Regions from separate parts of the Homo sapiens genome. Here all the other regions are linked to region 1. Evidence: promoter capture Hi-C in 16 types of primary human blood cells and fetal thymus (Javierre and others, 2016). All regions are on one chromosome and are shown on one strand. Each heading gives the region's core, a stretch centred on a gene start or on the middle of the fragment in contact. The rest is flanking DNA. Distances are from core to core; before and after follow the strand shown.

Region 1 (2,700 bases), core at 91-2,590:
TTCCCAGCTTCAGATTCATGAGTAGAGGCTCTTTTAGGAATGGAGCAGAATTTTCTCTCTAACAGTGGCTGCATTGCCCCAGTAGGCGACTGTTAGTAAAAGGAAGTTGAACAGAGATGCTTAGTCCTACATTGCACTTCGAAAATACAAAATAATGGCACTATAAAAATCCAAAATCTGGCTGGGCACAGTGGCTCACGCCTGTAATCCCAGCACTTTGGAAGGCTGAGGTGGGCAGATCACGAGGTCAGGAGATCGAGACCATCCTGGCCAACATGGTGAAACCCTGTCTCTATTAAAAAAAAAAAAAAATAGCCAGACATGATAGTAGGCACCTGTACTCCCAGCTACTCAGGAGGCTGAGGCAGGAGAATCGCTTGAACCTGGGAGGTGGAGACTACAGTGAGCTGAGATCACACGACTGCACTCCAGCCTGGGTGACAAAGTGAGACTCTGTTTAAAAAAAAAACAACAAATAAATAAAAATAAAAATCCAAAATATTTTTATAGTTAAGACTATTAATGTGAAGCAAACCCAACTTACTTGGTTCTAAGTGTTGTGATGCACAGTATATAACTACTGTCCCCCTAAAATTCATGTCCACCTGGAATCTATGAATGTGACCTTATTTAGAAATAAGAGCACTGCAGATATGATCAAGTTAAGATGAGGTCCTTCTGAATTAGAGTGGGCCCTAAATCCAACCGGTATCCTCATAAAAAAGGCATGTGAAGACAGAGATACAGAAAAGGTCATATGATGGTGGAAGCCGAGATTAGAGTGACGTAGCTGCAAGCTAAGGAAGGCCAAGCATTGCTGGCCACCACTAGAAGCCAGGAGGAAGCAAGGAGGGATTCTTCTTCAGAACCTCCGGAGGGAGTATGGCCCCATGACACCTTGATTTCAGACTTCTACCCTTCAGAGCTATGAGAAAATACATTTCTGTTATTTTAAGCCACCCAGTTTATGGGTGGCAAAAACCCAGTTTTGTTACAGCAACCCTAAGAAACTAATACAGTATTGATTCCTAAAACAAAAACGAAATCACTTTGGCTTATTTTCCACAGAGGAAAAAAAGTACCACACATTTTGCTATAGCTGAATGATAGCAAGCAGATTTATATACCAATCTTGTTTGACGTGGATTTTTTGAGAATACATTTTAGTAGTATGTTAGTTGGGGATAAGGTTTACAAATGACCAAAAGTTAACACAAACAGCCTTGAGAGAGAGAGAGAGAGAGAGTGTGCGTATGTCACAAAGGTGGGAACAAAGGGAGTGGGGTAGGGTTCTAGGAGTGGGTCCTGATTTCCCAAGAAAAGAACCACCAATCCAGGACCAACACAGCTATAGCAGGGCCTCTTGAGCCACTGAAGGCAGCACCAGACACTGGCTTCTCCTCTCTTCCTGTACATTATCTTCATTCTTCTATCTATAGACTACCTTTATCTTCTAAGTGAAAACATGACTGTCAGCAGCTTTCAAGCTTTATCATTTACAGAGCTTGCCTGAAGACAGACTGATTCCATTCTCTAGGTCTCCAAGCCCAGAAAGCTCAGAGAAAGACTTCGATTGGTCTGAGTTAGGCCAGCTGTCCACCCCTGAACTATCCAGAGCAGCCCTGCAGCTGGGCCGTTCCCAGAGAGAGGGATGGATAAAGGCACTCACTCTACATAAGGAACAGCTCTAGTTTCCTTCCTTAATTAAGAAGTAGTTTCACTTAAAAAAAAAAATCTCTAAACACTGACTAAAATGCTATAATGAAGTGAGCAACCAGGGGTAAAGAAGTACTAATAATTTCAAAGGCAGACACAAGTATGATTTGGAGAAGAAACAGCAGTCATAGATAAATCAAATTATCAATAAACGTAACACATTGATAGAGAGCTTTAATGAAGAGCCAATAAGCACATGAACAGGATGCTTCGTGTATGTAAGTAAAAATAAAATAATTTTCACTATTGGAATTCAACGAAAAACTGCTTTCTCTATTTAAAAGAATAAAAAATATGCAAAAAATTAAGCAACCATTTTTTTTCCTTCAACTTTTAAGTTCCAGGGTATGTGTGCAGGATGTGCAGGTTTATTACACAGGTAAACGTGTGCCATGGTGGTTTGCTGCACAAATTAATCCATTACCTAGGTATTAAGTCCAGCATCCACTAACTATTCTTCCTGATGCTCTACCTCCCCCAACCCCTCCCTTCAACAGGCCCCAATGTGTGTTGTTCCCCCATATGTACCCATGTATTCTCATTGTTCAGCTCCTACTTATAAGTGAAAACGTGTAGTATTTAGTTTTCTGTTCCTGCATTAGTTTGCTGAGGATAACGGCTTCTGGCTCCATCCATATCCCTGCAAAGGACATGATCTTGTTCCTTTTTATTGCTGCATAGTATTTCATAGTGTATATGTACCACATTTTCTTTATCCATTCTATCATTGATGGGCATTTGGGTTGATTCCATGTCTTTGCTATTGTGAATAGTGCTGCAGTGAACATATGTGTGCATGTATCTTTACAACAGAATGATTTACATTCCTTTGGGTATATACCCAGCAATGGGATTGCTAGGTCAAGTGGTATTTCTGCCTCTAGATTTCTGAGGAATCGCCACACTATCTTCCACAATGGTTGAACTAATTTACATTCCCACCAATACTGTAAAAGCATTCCTTTTTCTCCACAACCTCACCAA
Region 2 (2,700 bases), core at 56-2,555, 660 kb before region 1:
TCTATTTCTTCAATGGCTTATAATTTATTACTGGACTTATTTTGGTGTACAAATTATCTCAGGTTTGGTCTGGAGGAGCCTTTTCAAGATGACTCCTGTGTTCCTGTGACATGCCCTCATGATTTTTTAATCAACTTTTTAATTTTCTGATATGACTAAATATTCATCTTATACCTACCCTGCTCCATCCCTGGAATTAGCCATTTCTTTGAGGAGCCCTTGTTCCTTTTAGTGGTAAATGGTGTTAAAAGACCAAGATCTAGGTATGAGGTATGATCATTGCTACCAGACTTTGTTTCTTGGTCTTTTCAGTGGACAGAACAAAGAAATATGTAAATGTATACACACTAGTATACAAATGTATACCTGTAAGTACATATACATGCATACTTATCACATATACACACATACACATACCACATACATATTTTACAAATTATACAATCACATCTGAGGTTTCCAGTTGCAATCCATCCCCCTCAGAATTCTTTTTGGTTTTCTCCTACTCCATAATTTTTTTGTCCCTTCTTCGTCAGTGATAACTCTAGATCCCAACAACATCAATACCTTTGCTCATTTGATCAATCCAAAATAAAATTCTTAAACAGTTTAAGAATTACTTTGCCCATAATACTAGAATAAACAAGTCTACTATAATGAGTTCAGGGTTCATGTGTAATTCTTCCTTATCCACAACCCTGCACAAGACTGAGGATGTATAGTCAAATATTATGTTCATAAGCTACATGGATTCCTTCCTTCTTTCCTCTCTTCCATCTTTGGCTCTCTTGTTTTTTCTCTCCAGTGTGGTTATGGTATTAATATGAAATAAAATCAGTTTCATTTGTTGTGGTTTGCTTTCAGTTTTTCATTTTTTCCTTCTTATTCTTATTCATTGAATTTCATTTCTGAATATGTAGAATGTAATCATGCTTCCAAGAGTCAAGCTTATGCAAAAAGATAGTCTCAGAGAAGTGTTACTCTTTTACATCCCTTCCATTCTATTTCTGCATCCCCTTGTAGGTCACAAATTTCATTGTTATCTGATTTTTCATCTAGTATTACTTTTCGCAAAGTTAAATAAATATATGTATATATCTTTATTTTCCCTTCTTTCATATGTTAAAGTTAGCATCCTTCATAAGCTCTTTTGCTTTTATAAAAAACTTAATTATACCTCCTGGAAATTATTTCATTTCAGTTCCTAGAAATCTTCCCTATTTTGAGGCGGAGGTTGCAATGAGCTGATATTGCGCCGCTGCACTGCAGCCTGGGTGACAGAGCGAGACCCATCTCGAAAAAAAAAAAAAGAAAAAAAAAAACAAACAGAAAAGAAATCTTCCCTATTATAGTTTGTGTAGCTGCATAGAACTCATTATGTGTATATACCAAAGATTAATTAGTGTCCTATACTTGAACAGTTGGTTTGTGTTCAATATTATGCTATTTCAAAATAATCTTGTGCATATTGCATTTTTGTATTTTTGGGTGTGTATCTACTTCCTAGTATATGTAAATTCCAAAAGGTAACACTCTAGGGTAAATGCCTGTATAGTTTTATATTTGAATCTGTGTAGCCAAATTCCCCTCAATTGCTTTTCATTCCTACCAGCAATGCATGAGGGTATTTATTTTCTCCATACCTTGCCACATAGTAACATTATCAAGCTTTTTTTTTTTTTTTTTGAGACGGAGTTTCACTCTTGTCGCCAAGGCTGGAGTGCAATGGCCCCATCTTGGCTCATCACAACCTCCGCCTACTGGGTTCAAGCAATTCTCCTGCCTCAGCCTCCCGAGTAGCTGGGGTTACAGGCATGCACGCCTGGCTAATTTTGTATTTTTAGTACAGACAGGGTTTCTCTATGTTGGTCAGGCTGGTCTTGAACTCCCCACCTCAGGTGATCCACCTGCCTCGGCCTCCCAAAGTACTGGGATTACAGGCATGAGACACCGCCATTATCAAGCTTTTGAATTTTTTTGCTAAAGTTGTGGGTGAGAAACTGACTTTAGTATAGTTTATCTTGCATTTCTTTATTAGGAGCGATGTTGAACATCTTCCAACGTGTTTAAAGACCAGCTTTTGTATCTCTTTTTGTAAATTGTCTGTTCTTGTCATTTGCCTATTTTTCTGTAGGATTTTTGGTCTTTTTCCTTAAGTTTTATAAGTTCTTTATCAGTTAGGGATACTGATTTTTTATTTGCAATGTAGGCTGCAAATGTTTTCTTCTAGTTTGTTGTTTGCCTTTTGACTTTGCTTATGGTTTTTGGCATGCCAAAGTTTAGAAATTTTTAAAAATTATATTTATCAATTTTTTCTTTTAGTGCATTTGAATTTTTAGTAACAGAAAACCTTTTCTGATATCTAGATTACAGAGGTATTTACCCATGTTTTCTTGTTGTACTTGTGTAATTTTATTTTCCACATTTATATCTGTGATCCATGTGGAGTTTATTCCTGTGTATGGTCTGAGGAAGGAATTTAACTTTTTTTCAAATGGTTATCCAGCGATCTCAACACCATTTATTAAAAAAAAAAACAACTATATTTGCCTGAGTGAGAAGGGATATTACCTTTATCATACACTAAATTTTTATATGCACTTGTCTCCATTTCTGGACTTTCCATTCTGTCGATCTGTCTATTCATGTACTAGTACCACACTGTTTTAATGATAGAGTCTTTATAGTATTTTGTTTTGT
Region 3 (2,700 bases), core at 98-2,597, 640 kb before region 1:
GACTGGTACAGGTTGGTGGCCTGTTAGGACCCAGCTGCACAGCCTGTGCAAGCGAGCATTACCACTTGAGCTCCGCCTCCTGTCAGATCAGCAGGGGCATTAGATTCTCATAGGAGCGTGAACCTGTTGTAAACTGCACATGTGAGGGATCTAGGTTGCACACTTCTTATGAGAATCTAATGCCTGATGATGTGAGGCAAAACAGTTTCATCCTGAAACCATCCCCCAACTCAACCCCAATTTGTGGAAAAATCGTGTTCCGCAAAACTGGTCCCTGGTGCCAAAAAGGTTGGAGACTACTGCTCTAGGTATCCCCTACTCTAGCACTTACCATTCTGTATTGTACTAGTTTGTTTTCTTGGCTTTTGCCTACATCAGATCCTGAGTTTCTTGAGGGCATGAACTGAGTCATCTTTAATTCCCTAGTTCGGCTCTGTCATGGGTTAGACAGTGTTTATAGAGAGGATAAATGACATAGGATAGTTGAAGAACTTTTAAGCGTAATTGACAGGCATTTGGAGATGCCTAGTACAAACATGAATAGAAACATTCTTTTTGCAGAAGTAATAGTTGTGTACCTGAGCATATATAACCTGACCTGGGTAGTGGGAAATCAGTGGGCCAATTTTAGAAGGCAGGGAATGGTACCAGTCTGTATAGCCATAGTATTTTATTATCTTTAAAAAACAGAACAGAACAAAGCAGTTTCTTTCGCTTCTTATCAATGCTTGTCAAATAGAGTTCGGATTTCTCATCTTGGATTTCAGAGCCTCCCTCAATCTGGTCTTACTTTACCTGGCTAATCTTATATGCCATTGCCTGCCAATGGGTACTCTCTGTTCCAAATAGGACAGTTTCTACACTGTTCTTTGAACAGGCCACACTCATTTTTGGCTTTGGAGCTTTATTCATGCTGTTACTCATACCTAGAATATCTTTCTATGATATCCCTGTTCTCCAACTCTTGTCATCCTTGAAGGGTTAGGTCAGGGTCACCCTATCCATGAAGTGTTATTTAACTACTCCAGATGATCTAAATGATGATCACCTCTTTTAAAATTTCTGAAGCATGCATTTAAATACCTTTATTGTTTTATCTATTCATTGCTTGACTGGTTATAATCTAGCTAGGTCTACCAAAGTCCACCTGCTTATGGGGTGAGTTTCCTGCTTTTAAAAGCCCCCCTCTGTAAATGGTGGGAACACAGTTTCCTCTCCTAAATATTTCTCAGGAATTTCAGGGAGCTTGTGTTTCTTTTAGTGACATCTTACTTCGCTTCCTTTGGAGCACTTTCTGCTCTATTTTAGAAGGTACTTACATCTTGTCTCTTGAGCCTGTCTCTTTGGCGTCTGCCTTGATTTCTCTAAAGAATCAATCACAAAGCAGATATTTATAGTAGGGCTTTATTGAAAATTTGGGAGGAGTGGTAGGGATTATATCCCAGCATAGTGAACAGCTTAAAATGCTTTTATTTAGAAGTTTTTTGGACATTCCCACTGCTGGAAATTTCTTGACTTTTTTTTTTGTCCTGAGTCTCAGCCCTGTTGCCTGCTGCTGGGCCTTTCTTTACCCATTGGGTGTCCTTATATCTCCAGCTTCTTACTCCCTGCACTACGTTACTGCTAACCCCTCTACAACTTTCCTGCAAACTTCAAAATTCAGCTTTCCTTCCTTAAATCTGCCCCATTCAAATCAAGCTCTAGAAGGGGCTGGCTTCACTTTTCTCAGTTTCACAGGCGCACTGGGTGTTTTGCAAAGTGCAAGCATGAATCATGTGAGGGGCTAGAGCGGCTTGAGACCCTTACAGTTACCCATGAGTAGATGTTATATGGCCCCGTTTGGATCCTCAAAATAAAAAAGAGATGCTTAAGCAACCTTGGATGGAAAAAAAAGCATTGAAGAATTTGCCAGCCAAAGTAGCTGTGTACTGAACCCAACTGAGGCAGATCAGGCCCAGAGCAGTGTTCTGAGAACTGTGTAGCTGTCTGTGGTCTGCTAGGGGGAACTGAGTACAGGTTGTTTAATTAATTATATGTCCCAGTTACTGGCACATTCACATCCTTGGGTAGGCATTCTATTTCAAGGCTTTTGCTCTTGCTGTTTCCCCTGCCTGAAGTGCTCTTTCCTCAGATACTCACATTGCTTACTCTCCCCACTCTTTCAGTCTTTTTTCAGACATCCTTTTAGTGAGACCTTCTATTGCCATTCGATTTATTTTTATTTATTTATTTATTTTGAGACGGGGTCTCACTCTCTCACCCATGCTGGAGTGTAATGGCACCATCTTGGATCATTGCAACCTTTGCCACCCAGGCTCAAACAGTCCTCCTACCTCAGCCTCCCAAGTAGCTAGGACTACAGCCACACGTCACCACACCTGGCTAATATTTTTTGTAGAGACAAGGTCACGTTATGTTGCCCAGGCTGGTCTCGAACTCCTAGGCTCAAGCGATTCTCCCACCTCAGACTCCCAAAGTGCTGGGATTACAGGCAAGAGCCACTGTGCCTGGCCCCTGCCACTCAAAATAGCATCCTGTCTACCTTCCAGACTTTACTTTTCTCCTTAGCACTTATCACTATAAAATATGCTATATATTTTACATATTTATCTTGTCTGTTGTATATGTTTGCAGTATATACATACTGCTAGCATTTAAGTTCCACAAAGGCAAGAATTTTTGTCTATTTTATTCACAGTT
Region 4 (2,700 bases), core at 150-2,649, 590 kb before region 1:
TCATTTTTATAGCAATCATTCTTTTAAGTATGCAGTATTTTTTCACCTCTGAAGCTATTTAAGTTTTTAATGTGTTTTTAGCTCCCTGCATTTTTTGTTATTCTGTTGTCATTCACATTAGAGGCCTTCCTCAAGCATTCTGTGACTCTTGGCTGTGAATTCATATTTAAAAGTAAGTGCCTTAAACACTTACTAGAAGCTGGAGTTGAGAGCTTGTTAACTGGTCTCCCTTGAAGGGTGTTTGTAGGGGGACCCTAATCATGTGCACGTGTGTGTAGTACTCAGTTTTAAAATTTAATTATGAAATTTTAAAAAATTGTTTTTCATTTTTTGTATGAGTTTCTGAACCATTTTTTAAAACCATTATTTTGGTATACTTTACACTTACAGAAAAGTTGAAAAATAGAATAAGGGGCTGGGTGTGGTGGCTCATACCTGTAATCCCAACACTTTGGGAAGTTGAGTCAAGAGGATCACTTGAGGCCAAGAGTTCAAGACCAGCCTGGGCAACACAGTGAGACTTCGTCTTTACAAAATATAAAAAAGTTAGCTGGCTGTGGTGGCACATACCTACAGTCTCAATTACACGGGAGGCTGAGCAGAAGGATCACTTAAGCTTAGGGATATCCTGTCTCACAAAAAAAAAAAAAAAAAGATTAGCATAAGGAACTTCCTTATATTCTTAACCCACATTCACCAATTGTAAAACACTCATTTTAAAGTTGTTAACTTTCTCCTAAATAGTTTTGAGCCTCTGCTGTGTATGAAATTCTTTAATATTTGGACCTTATCTCAAAAAAAGTTTTAAAATATTGTACATTCGTACAGGATAATTTTATTTGAAAAGTTAACATATATCTCCATCTCAGTATTTAAGCTACAGTGCAAATTGATTTATTTATTTTCTCTTTTTGCCTTTTCTAAAGTAAGTCCAGATTCATGTATTTCTGCTAAAGAAAGCCTCAAAGAGACTTATTATGGTCCTTAATGTACTTCATTTTAATATCCTTTTCATATTTTAAGCTTATTTGTTGATGGTGACTAATGACTTTGGAGTATGGGCAAATCTTAATAGGAAAGACACCCTCTTTAAGGTAGAAACTATACTAATTCCATGACATGGAGGAAAATTCTTCATACCTTGTTGCTGCTTTATCTAATCATAAAAATATATTTTATTTTCACCCATTTGGCTACAAGCAGAATTTAAAAATTACCAAACTCTCTTTTATAAAGATTCTTAAACATTTGGAAGTTGTAGTGATTAGGGCTATTGTAAAATTGTTTTTTGTTAATTATTTTTTTTGCAGTGGAATAATAAGCAGAAATAAGGCTTTATTCAAGAAACCATTTTTTAAATTTATAGCTGCTACTCCAATGGTAAACCATTGCTGAATGATGGCATGTTCTTGTGTGTTTCACAGCTTGGGCAGCACTAAAGCACTTTGGTTTTAAGTAAGGTTTGGTTCAAACAATTTTAACATAAATTCTCTGAACCTTTTGTACTGTCTTGATTGCTTAATGTCTGTAATATTCTTATTGCTATAAACAACATTTTTGTGTGGTTCTATTTAACTTTCTTGTAGTTAGCGTTTTTTTTTTTTTTAACTGTTTTACTTTTTAGGGGCTATATAAACATTGGAGTATTAATTTCTCTTAATCAGTCTAAAGGAACATTTCCCAAAGTATGTTCTGTGGAATCTTGGCTATGATAGAGGAAATGTTTCATGCTACAAACCCCTCTCAGAGAGTTAAAATGCACATACTATACATTAAAAGCTTTGAGAAGGTCTTTGGTAAAGACATTTGTTAGATTTGTTTAACCTAGGATTTCCCAAATTTATCCATCTAGTCCCTCACAGAAAAGAAATTATTTCTCTAGTCATATACTAGTAATTTTTGTGTGTGCGTGGGCAGCTAGGTTTAAACCACTTAGTCCAGTGTTTAAATGTTTTATATAAATATGTCTTATGAAATTTGGGAACATTATTAAGTATTACTTGAAGTAAGAGTTCTGTGATCAAATACATACTATCTTTGTATTAGGTCATAGACATATCTTACTCAAAGATCCTTTACTTATATAATACTGCTTTGTTCAAATTTTTAATAAAGTTTTAGAACCCTTTTTAAAAATTTTTAATGTATATTTTAAAAGCAGAAAAATATGTAAAACAGATTAACAACAGGCAAAAGAGAAGCTAGTCTAGCTGAAGTGTGTTGAGGAACATGAAGCTTCTGTAGATCCATTCTGGGCTCTGATCTATGCGTTAGTCCCAGTATTGGCAAACTAGGACCCACAGGTCAAATCTCACTACCTGCCATCTGTTTTGGTAAAGTTTTATTAGAATACAGCCACACTTCTTGGCTGCTTTTGTTTTACAGTGGCAGAATTGAGTAGTTGCAGCGGAGCCCTTAGGGTGCACAAAGCCTAAAATATTTACTCTTGACCCTTTGCTGATCCCCATTAAGTCTGTCTCCCTGCCATTAGTTCACACAAATGAGAATCAGATTATTAAAATATTTTAAAACAAACAAATGGTACTTTGTTTATTCATAATAACCCATTCCTGGGACTATAAAGTTGTTAATTGTTATGCTAGCTTAGTTTCTTTTGTAGCCACTTAAGCCTTTTTTTAAAGCAGCCATTTTTACTAAGAAATAATTAGTTATCATTCTGTTTAATTTTGCCATTTGCAG
Region 5 (2,700 bases), core at 101-2,600, 570 kb before region 1:
AATTCTTAGATAAAGCACAGACCATGTGTCTCCACTGAAAGCAAAGCATTCAGTGCCAATCCGGACAGCTAGTGTTTCACTCAAACTAGTTAATCTCTGTTCTTTTTGCTTTCGTTGTTGTCCTCTTTTGGGATATGTGTATCCAAAAGCATGGTGACTACAATAGCATTGTGCTATTGCATGCAAGAGAAACAGCATTGTTAAAATTGTTTATGTAATTTCCATGCTGTTTGCATAAAAATGGTTTCATGAAGTGTTTGTTTGGCACCCGCTCTGTGAAGAGCATTGTCCTCGGTGGTGTGATGTACAATATAAACAGAATATAAACAGAAATCACGGGCACTCAGTAAATATTTGTTGAATAAATGAACTATACAGTTTGTTTTATCCTTATAGTAGATTCAGTTTTTTATACAGAGAAAAAGATGGTTTTTTGTTTTTGTTTTCTGCCAGGTGGAACACCTACATAATTTCATTTTGTTTCGGTTTTCAATGGGCTTCATTGATAGTATTATTGCCAAATGTAAGTATATTTTGAAAGAGATGAGATTTGTGGAAAAGGTGAAATACTGTTACTGTTTTAAATCTTACCTGTTTGGTTTCAGACCTTGCCACTGTTGTTGGTTACCTAGTTGTCAGTCGCCCTTTCTTAGATTTGTCTCATCCTCGACATCTCAAGAGTACACATTCGGAACTTCTAGAGGTAAACTGATGATAATACAATGAAAATGTAACAGTAAAAATAAAGCCAAATTTTTAGTCATAGAACTATAAGTAAAAACTAATATTTATTTCTATTTAAGGATTACTACCAAAGTGGAAGAATGCTTTTGCGAATGTCTCAAGCTCTGGGTCGAATAGTTTTGGCTGGGCGTGAAATGACTAGATTGGCCGGGTAAGATTAGTAATAATGAGCTGTTGCAGAAAATAATTTTTAAAAATATATTATCCTTAATGATTGTATCAGTTGAGATTAAGATAAGGGGTCAACATTTCCTAGCCCAGGAAGGTGGTTTTGATAGAAAATTAAGGAAGATTTTTCTGATGGTGAACTTTTCATGTTTCTTGAGGACAGCTGGTTTGCGCAGTACAGTAGATTAGAGGCTGTCAAGTTGTTTGCTCCATGGACACGTATTTGCTAAGTTGGGAAATGTTGAATCATGGCAGTCTTAATTCACAGAAAACTATGTTTATGAATAGAATTTTCTCATTTAAATTTTCTTGTCCTCTACCATACCTTTTTTTCTTGGATCTTAGATACCGGCAACCTAGCAAAACAGATGAATAGAAATGAAGTTGACTTTAATGGGAAAAAAAATGAGATGTTATCTTGTATCTGTAGGCGTGCTTGTGAATGTAGTCATATTATCTAGTAGTAAAATTATCTTTAGACAGTAGAATGAAATTAAATATTAAGATTTCAGTATTTCAATCTCCAATATAAAGGGCATGGTATGGTGTAAAAAACACCATAAATTTTAGGTCACCTGAAGAAGTTTGATGACTGAATATCTTTCCTAGGCCTGTGATCCATCTTCATATTTCTCTTTTTCCTCCTTCTTAGCTCCTGTGGCAGTTATGGTCTTCATGCAATATAGAAGTTGTTAACTACTATGAGTAGAGTCTCTTTCATGAGAATACTAACATTCTTCCTACTTGTTAACTTTTCTTATGGCTTTACAGTTCATGGTATATAAGGTGCTTCTGTTCCTTTAGGGTGTTTCCTTTCACTCTCTCTCTCTCTCTCGCTCTCTTTCTGTGTGGGTGTGTGTGTCTTTCTCTTTCACTCCCTCCCTTCGTCTCCCTGCCCCCCTTTCTTTCTCTTTTTTCCACTTTGTTGAGGTATGATTGACATATAAGAAACTGTTCATATTTAGTGTATACAATTTGATGAATATGGGAATAAGTTATACACGTGTGAAACCATCAAGACCATAAACATTCATCACCTCCCAAAGTTTGCTTTAGGAGGTTTCTGCTTTTTATTCAGAGAAAAATCCTGTTTTCTTCTTCGATGCAGAATACTTTCTCTTTGGCGATCATGGTCATTTTTGTTATCTCCAACCTCTTGTCGTTAGTTTTGATTTTTCTCTATTGCCACAGTGATTTCTATCTAATAATAAGAACTCATCATCTTTCCCCTCTTCAGAGTAAGAAAGAGGGAATCTTTCAGATTCTTCCGTTTGCAGGAAGGCAGCATGCATTCGGCATACATTTAATAAATGCCTTCCTTGGATAGAAAGACCAGCTTTATACATGGCTTTATAGGTCACTTCAGCAAGAGATCAGAGTCCATACTTCCTGGGTCTAAGGAATATACTAGTAGTGGTCCTTTTGTAGTATCCAAGAGAAACCTCCTGAAAATTCTCAGCAAATAACTGCCTTGACTTGGCTATTAATGAAGTATCTGTTGAGTTGGGGATCCTATGGAAACCTCTTCCTTCATCCCTATATTCCTGCTCTCCTACTGAAACATAATAAAGCACACATGTTATCATTAATACTTTATGTTGATGAGACTGTTAGGTTACTTCATTTATACTAAATTATAATTTTAGGAACTTCAGTTTGTATAAAATAAAAGATGTGACAATAGTCTGGAGTTTTGATTATGGTTTCCTTTTCTAAAATTTTAGTTTTACTGCTCGGATTACAGAATTAATGCAAGTACTGAAGGATTTAAATCATGGCAAATATGAG
Region 6 (2,700 bases), core at 132-2,631, 550 kb before region 1:
CATTTTGCTTTTTATTTTGACTTATATACTTCATATATTTTTTATATCCTCATGTAAAGAATGTGTGCATTAAGTAGATGTCTAATCCAATTATTGTAGTATCATAAACAGAGAAATAATATCTTAAATGAGCTCTGAAAAATCAGAAAAGTGTGGTATGGTTGAAATATATGTTTTATTAATACTGATAATATGCTTATTTTATTATGCAATTCCTAACCAATTTAAGAACCTTTTTACAGTGCAGCCAAACTTATTACACATTAGAAGTTTTATTTTATATCACTTTGGCAATCAGAGGTGTAGATACAAACCGAGGAACTTGAATCTCATGGTAAAAATGATCTAGAATATACTTATAATGATCTTTTAAAAATTATCATCAAAATGAAAATAAAATTAAGAAACCATGGTGGAAATTTCCCAGATGCCCTAAGCATGCATTTGCCAGCCTTGAGTGATCCACTTGGAGGAACAGTGACCCAGAGTGGGGTTTCTCAGTCCTGGCACTATTGACCTTTTCACTGTTAATTCCTAGTTGGGCAGGGTTGAGGGTTGCTGTGCACTGGAGGATGTTTAGAAAGCATCCCTGGCCTCTGCCCATTAGATGGCAGTAGTGCTTTCAGTTGTGAAAATAAAAATGCCTCCAGTCATTGCCAAATGTCCCCCTGAGGGACAAATATCACTGACCTCCCCACCTTGGTTGAGAACCACTGATCTAGAGCAACTACAGCTATTATCTATTAATGTTTTTTTTTTTTTGAAAATCTGAAGTACAGATCTATAAATACGTATTCACAATCTGAAATCCAGAAAGTGCTTAAATTTAAAACATTTTTCATAATTTTGTAGCAAGCTCACTGGGTAAAACTTCGCCTAAGCTAACAAAAGATATTTAAACTCTATATGTCTCAATATCAGTGTCCATGTGTGTTGCTACAGAAACATTTATGTGTTTAATTATAAAATTCTGCCTCAGAACTCTCTGGGGGTGTTAAATAATACATTTTCAAAATCTGAATTCCAAGACACATTCCAAAACAGTAGTTTACGGTAGGGGATTATGACCCTGTATTTGAAAAGCAAGTTGACTGTCAACAATGCTATACTGATTTAATTTTTCCTGATTTTGACCTTTGGCTATTTTTATCCTTCTCATATTCCTCTCATATATTTTTCACAATAAAATAGGAGACATGATAGGAGATATGTTTTTTGCCCAAAAGAAAATAATACACTTAATGCCAGTACCTGGTAGTTTTTATTATGTGGTTGATGGCCAGTACTTTCCATTGCTATAAACATTTTGCATCCAGTTGTAAATTTTTTCTCATTGACATTGCTTTTTAACTTTAGTCACTGAAGACTGTCCTCTTAACAGCTTAAAGTACATGGACTAGTTTAATTTGTGACTCTGTTACTCATTAAACCTAAATCATTTTCTTTGTATTAGGTTGGCATCACTCTCTTCACTGTGTCTCATAGGAAATCTCTTTGGAAACATCATGAGGTTTGTATTTCTTTCATTGAATGGTACAGTGAAATTTTATTTTCTTTAAAATATGAATTCAGGTTAATATGGTTTTAGATTTTATGGTTTGTATTCCCTTAAACATATGTCTTAAGGAGAAAAGGTGGTTTTGTTTTATAAAATAGGATTTTCTTAAATATTATAGTTGTCAGTTTTGAAAGCAATGGTGTAACAGTTTTTCTCCAGTTTTATAAGTGACTCTTATCTGTTAATAGTAACTGACTAAACTTTGCATAGTCTTATCACAAATATGGTGAAGTAAACTTTTCTTATCCAGCAGTGACAGAGGAGAAAAAGTCTTAAGAAGAATTAGATGGCAAAAAATTTAGGGACATTTTTAATAGAGGTCAGGACTACAAGGGGGAAGATTGAATAACATAAGCTATGTTTATCAATGTACTGTAGTAAGTAGGATTCATTAGATAGTCACTATAATTTACAAAGATATTCAAATGAGGCTTACATTGGTGCACGTGTATTACTTATTCTGGTGCTTCAGTAGTGCCATTCTCACTATGTCAGTTCTTTTCAACTCAATGTGAAATGCTCAAAACCTGAAAGTAAACCCAGTTTAATTCTCTTTATTTTCTTTCCTCCTCCCTCCCTCCCTCCCTTCCTTTCTTCCTTCCTTTCTTTTCTTCTTTCCTTTCTGTCTTTCCCCCTTCCCTCTTTCCTTTCTTCTCTTCTTTCCTTCTTTTCCTTCCTAAATGATATAGAAATTTTAGGTAAAAGCAAGGATTTGAGAAAAATTGGAATAATGGTAAAGGTGCCTTGTTCCACAAAATACATACCTGATTAAGGACCTTTTTTTGCCAGATACTGAGCTAAGTGTCATGAGGGATGCAAATTAATTACAGTTTTTACCTTCAAGAACTTTAGGATGTAGATGATAGTCTACAAGTGATAAAATGAAGAGCATAGGATTTGAAGTCAGAGAGCCTGGGTTCAGGCACCAAAGTTTCTAGCCTCAGTTGCTTCCTTTGTATAATGAAGTTATTGAGCCTTACCTTCCTATCTCTTAGATTACCATGAAAATTAGACAGGTAGCCTATATGAAAGTACTTAATAAAATTCAGTGAAATTCTATATAACTGTGTGACTTTTAAAGATAGCTTTTATTATTTTATGGCATATTATAACTTGTCAATTTTTCATGAACTGAGCAGGAA
Region 7 (2,700 bases), core at 106-2,605, 520 kb before region 1:
AGCAAAATTTAGCACAAGGATTTATACAGTACCCTGGTAAGTAGTAAAACTGTATAAACAGGTAATGAAGGGACAATTCTGTAGAAAATCCCTCTGAATGCCATTAATAGCATTAACACTTTAAAAGCCTCCAAGGTTCCTCCAGGCATTGCAAAACCCTCTGATTTGGAATTTTGAGTTAACTAAAAAATTCAGTCACTAATTTGGTTGCAGGTTGTTTTCCAGAAGCTTTGTAAATTCAGCTTTAGAATTCAGAACATTTCCATGGAATGAATATCACCGGTGACGGTTTGTGCTAAGGCTTAAGCCAATAACATTTCCCAACCACCACTGAAAACTGTTAGCAAAGGTGAAAAATGCAGTTGGAGTTCCAAGTAGGGGCTTCTGCACAGCAGTAGTGTCCTGCGGCTGGAGCCAGGCTGCAGTAGTGAGAGCAGTCGGGAGGGAAGAGGGGCAGCTGCTTAAGATGCTAACTGTAGGGAGGGAAAACAGGCAGAGAGGAAGGCCAACTGAGGAGATGCAGTGGGCAAGACTTTCCTTCTTCCTCCCGCTTTGGAGCCTCCCATCAGACTGTGGCAGAGCCACCTGAGGGATGGTGGTGTGTGGATACTGGGTAGACTTTGGTTCCAGACCTGACATGGGCACTCACCATCAGTGTAGTCATGAATAAATCCCTCACTTCTCAGAGCAACAGTTTCCTCAACTGTAAAATGACTGCTCTGGTCCTTTTTAACCAGGAATCTCATTTATTCCTGGGGTGGGCAGGAGAAGAGTGCACACCTCAGGCCGAGGCTGATGGAAAAGCTCCCAGGCCCTCCAGTACAGCAGCAAGAGATTGTTCAGTCCATAGGACCACCCTGAGTCGGCTGGCATCCCCCAAGCTGTAGCCCTGCGCTCTGCTGTTTGCAGATCAGGAGCTGTGCTCATTTAAATAACAGCAGCCTTATAAAGTTCAAGAACTTACAGTTAACAAAGGCTTATGTTTAAAAAGCAGATGAATCATAAATATATTCCCATGTGTCCCTCAAATATTAGATTGAATATATTTAGGAGGTAAGCATTCCTCCCAAAATCTAATTTTTACCATATGGAAGTAAAGTGTTTACTAAGGTAAACTTCAGGCCTGTATCAGAGAAATTACTTACTAATTCTCAATTGGTGAAATCTGAATTGACAAGTTTGACCAGAACTGTAATCATTATTTCATGTTATGAAATTCCTTCATCTTTCTCTCCCCCCACCCCCATACATATCCACACATGCATGCACGTATGCATGCAAGTTCTCCTTGCTGGTTTGGCAACTACTGTCATGAAGTTCATTTTGAAAAACAAGAACATTCACTTAAAAGATGCATCGTTATCTAGAAGTTGCATTCCTAATGCTGTAAAAGGCCTGGCACAAGCTAAAACAAAACAGAACAGCAAAATACCTTTTGTTTTAGCTAGTGCTACTTTTGTACTTTTATGTAATTAGCATTAAAATAATTTCCACAGCAGCTATTCTCTATTTCATAAGATCTCTACCAAGCCTCCTAGAACATTTCAAAAACCAAAAACTTGCCAAGAATATGGTGAAAACCATCAAGGAAGTCATAACCTTTAGATTGAACATGCTGAATTATCGCCTCCTGGGGACAGCTGCCAGTCAGAGTTGAGGCACCAAGAAGCAGAGCCACACCAGACCCAGAGGGTGCAGACAGCAGAGTATTTCTGCTCTGCCAGGCTCAGTGAGTCACGCATTTGGCCTCCTCCACTAAGATCATGTATTCTACCAGATTTCGATTCATGGAGTCCAAAGATGAATGAATCAAACACTGCTTAAGGGCAATGTATACATTGGGATTCCTCCCCACCTCTTCCCTAAGGTGTTAGACATTGTTCACAGTCTAGACAGCAACAGAAAAAGACATCAATGTTTAGATGAGATTAATTAATCTATCATGACCCAAAGCACACTTCAGTGCCTACTCAAGATGGTTCATCTCTCCACAGTTTATACTCCACTTAGGAACTCTCCCATCATTTCCAAAAACAATTAAAACAATTAAAATGTTCTATCAGTTTAAGGTCTGGAAATGTTGCAGGCCTAATAGAGTATGACACCGGCCAGCGAATTGCCAAGAATCCCTTCTTCTTCGTCATCTGTTAAATAATTTCATCCAGTAATCAGCTTTAAAGACATTCTTGTTCAGCATAGGACAGTAGAAACATCAAAGACCTTAATTTTCTTTTTCTGTACCCAGCTTACCTTATTTGAACAGTGTAGACTTGATTGACGGGTTTGGGTTCCCACTCCAAAATTGTCTTGAAATTAGTTGATTTCCAAGTTAAATTATATGCTGCCACAGTATTTGTAGTGCCTTTAAACAACAGAGAAACAGCTATTATTACATGCACTTCAGAGCACTCGAATGTATTGATGTATAAAACACCTTCCCACCTGACATCACCATAAACCTCACTTTTTATTTTTCAACCACAAAAGCTTCATTAGTGAATTATCAAGAGAAAAAGAATCTTCAAATTTTTTCTAGACCTAGAATTTCTTCATGACAAGATTCACCTTGTAATCCCAGGACACCGGCAAGGATCTTGACATTTTCGTTTGAAATTATTCATGGGCAAAGCCTTGTTATAACTTGACCGGGAAGAGCCCAGAGCCATCAGTGTGCCAGTCCAGGACTCAGCTCAGGAAGAG

What was found. The method cuts DNA at HindIII sites, captures the fragments that hold promoters and counts their contacts. A CHiCAGO score of 5 or more calls a contact.
Region 2: a contact is called between a fragment that was not itself captured here and the fragment with the promoter of ALG14-AS1 in region 1, in 1 of 17 cell types (total CD4 T cells). The highest score is 5.8, in total CD4 T cells.
Region 3: a contact is called between a fragment that was not itself captured here and the fragment with the promoter of ALG14-AS1 in region 1, in 3 of 17 cell types (naive CD8 T cells, total B cells and total CD8 T cells). The highest score is 7.0, in naive CD8 T cells.
Region 4: a fragment that was not itself captured here is called in contact with the fragment with the promoter of ALG14-AS1 in region 1 in 3 of 17 cell types (erythroblasts, total CD4 T cells and fetal thymus); the score reaches 5.8 in erythroblasts.
Region 5: a fragment that was not itself captured here is called in contact with the fragment with the promoter of ALG14-AS1 in region 1 in 6 of 17 cell types (total B cells, M1 macrophages, fetal thymus and 3 more); the score reaches 6.8 in total B cells.
Region 6: a contact is called between a fragment that was not itself captured here and the fragment with the promoter of ALG14-AS1 in region 1, in 2 of 17 cell types (endothelial precursors and erythroblasts). The highest score is 7.1, in endothelial precursors.
Region 7: a fragment that was not itself captured here is called in contact with the fragment with the promoter of ALG14-AS1 in region 1 in 1 of 17 cell types (endothelial precursors); the score reaches 7.1 in endothelial precursors.

What each region holds. Positions count from the first base shown.
Region 1 is chr1:95,060,256-95,062,955 of GRCh38, forward strand. It overlaps ALG14-AS1 (ALG14 antisense RNA 1), which reads left to right and starts at 1,341. Exons shown (of 2, transcript NR_132786.1): 1 at 1,341-1,934. The region is part of intron 2 of ALG14 (ALG14 UDP-N-acetylglucosaminyltransferase subunit); the gene reads right to left. The HindIII fragment of the contact is 7,319 bases long and covers 1-1,485 here.
Region 2 is chr1:94,403,642-94,406,341 of GRCh38, forward strand. It overlaps a transcript of ABCD3 not described here. Among named protein-coding and RNA genes, the nearest start is that of ABCD3, 13 kb to the right of the region's middle. The HindIII fragment of the contact is 721 bases long and covers 946-1,666 here.
Region 3 is chr1:94,422,204-94,424,903 of GRCh38, forward strand. All of the region lies in intron 1 of ABCD3 (ATP binding cassette subfamily D member 3), which reads left to right. Among named protein-coding and RNA genes, the nearest start is that of ABCD3, 5.2 kb to the left of the region's middle. The HindIII fragment of the contact is 5,695 bases long and covers 1-2,700 here.
Region 4 is chr1:94,470,863-94,473,562 of GRCh38, forward strand. All of the region lies in intron 4 of ABCD3 (ATP binding cassette subfamily D member 3), which reads left to right. Among named protein-coding and RNA genes, the nearest start is that of ABCD3, 54 kb to the left of the region's middle. The HindIII fragment of the contact is 756 bases long and covers 1,022-1,777 here.
Region 5 is chr1:94,487,089-94,489,788 of GRCh38, forward strand. ABCD3 (ATP binding cassette subfamily D member 3) reads left to right here. Exons shown (of 23, transcript NM_002858.4): 11 at 454-523; 12 at 606-703; 13 at 804-895; 14 at 2,637-2,700. Among named protein-coding and RNA genes, the nearest start is that of F3, 53 kb to the right of the region's middle. The HindIII fragment of the contact is 5,668 bases long and covers 1-2,700 here.
Region 6 is chr1:94,513,693-94,516,392 of GRCh38, forward strand. It overlaps ABCD3 (ATP binding cassette subfamily D member 3), which reads left to right. Exons shown (of 23, transcript NM_002858.4): 22 at 1,454-1,510. Among named protein-coding and RNA genes, the nearest start is that of F3, 27 kb to the right of the region's middle. The HindIII fragment of the contact is 3,154 bases long and covers 1-2,700 here.
Region 7 is chr1:94,538,007-94,540,706 of GRCh38, forward strand. It overlaps F3 (coagulation factor III, tissue factor), which reads right to left. Exons shown (of 6, transcript NM_001993.5): 2 at 2,251-2,362. Among named protein-coding and RNA genes, the nearest start is that of F3, 2.4 kb to the right of the region's middle. The HindIII fragment of the contact is 2,259 bases long and covers 227-2,485 here.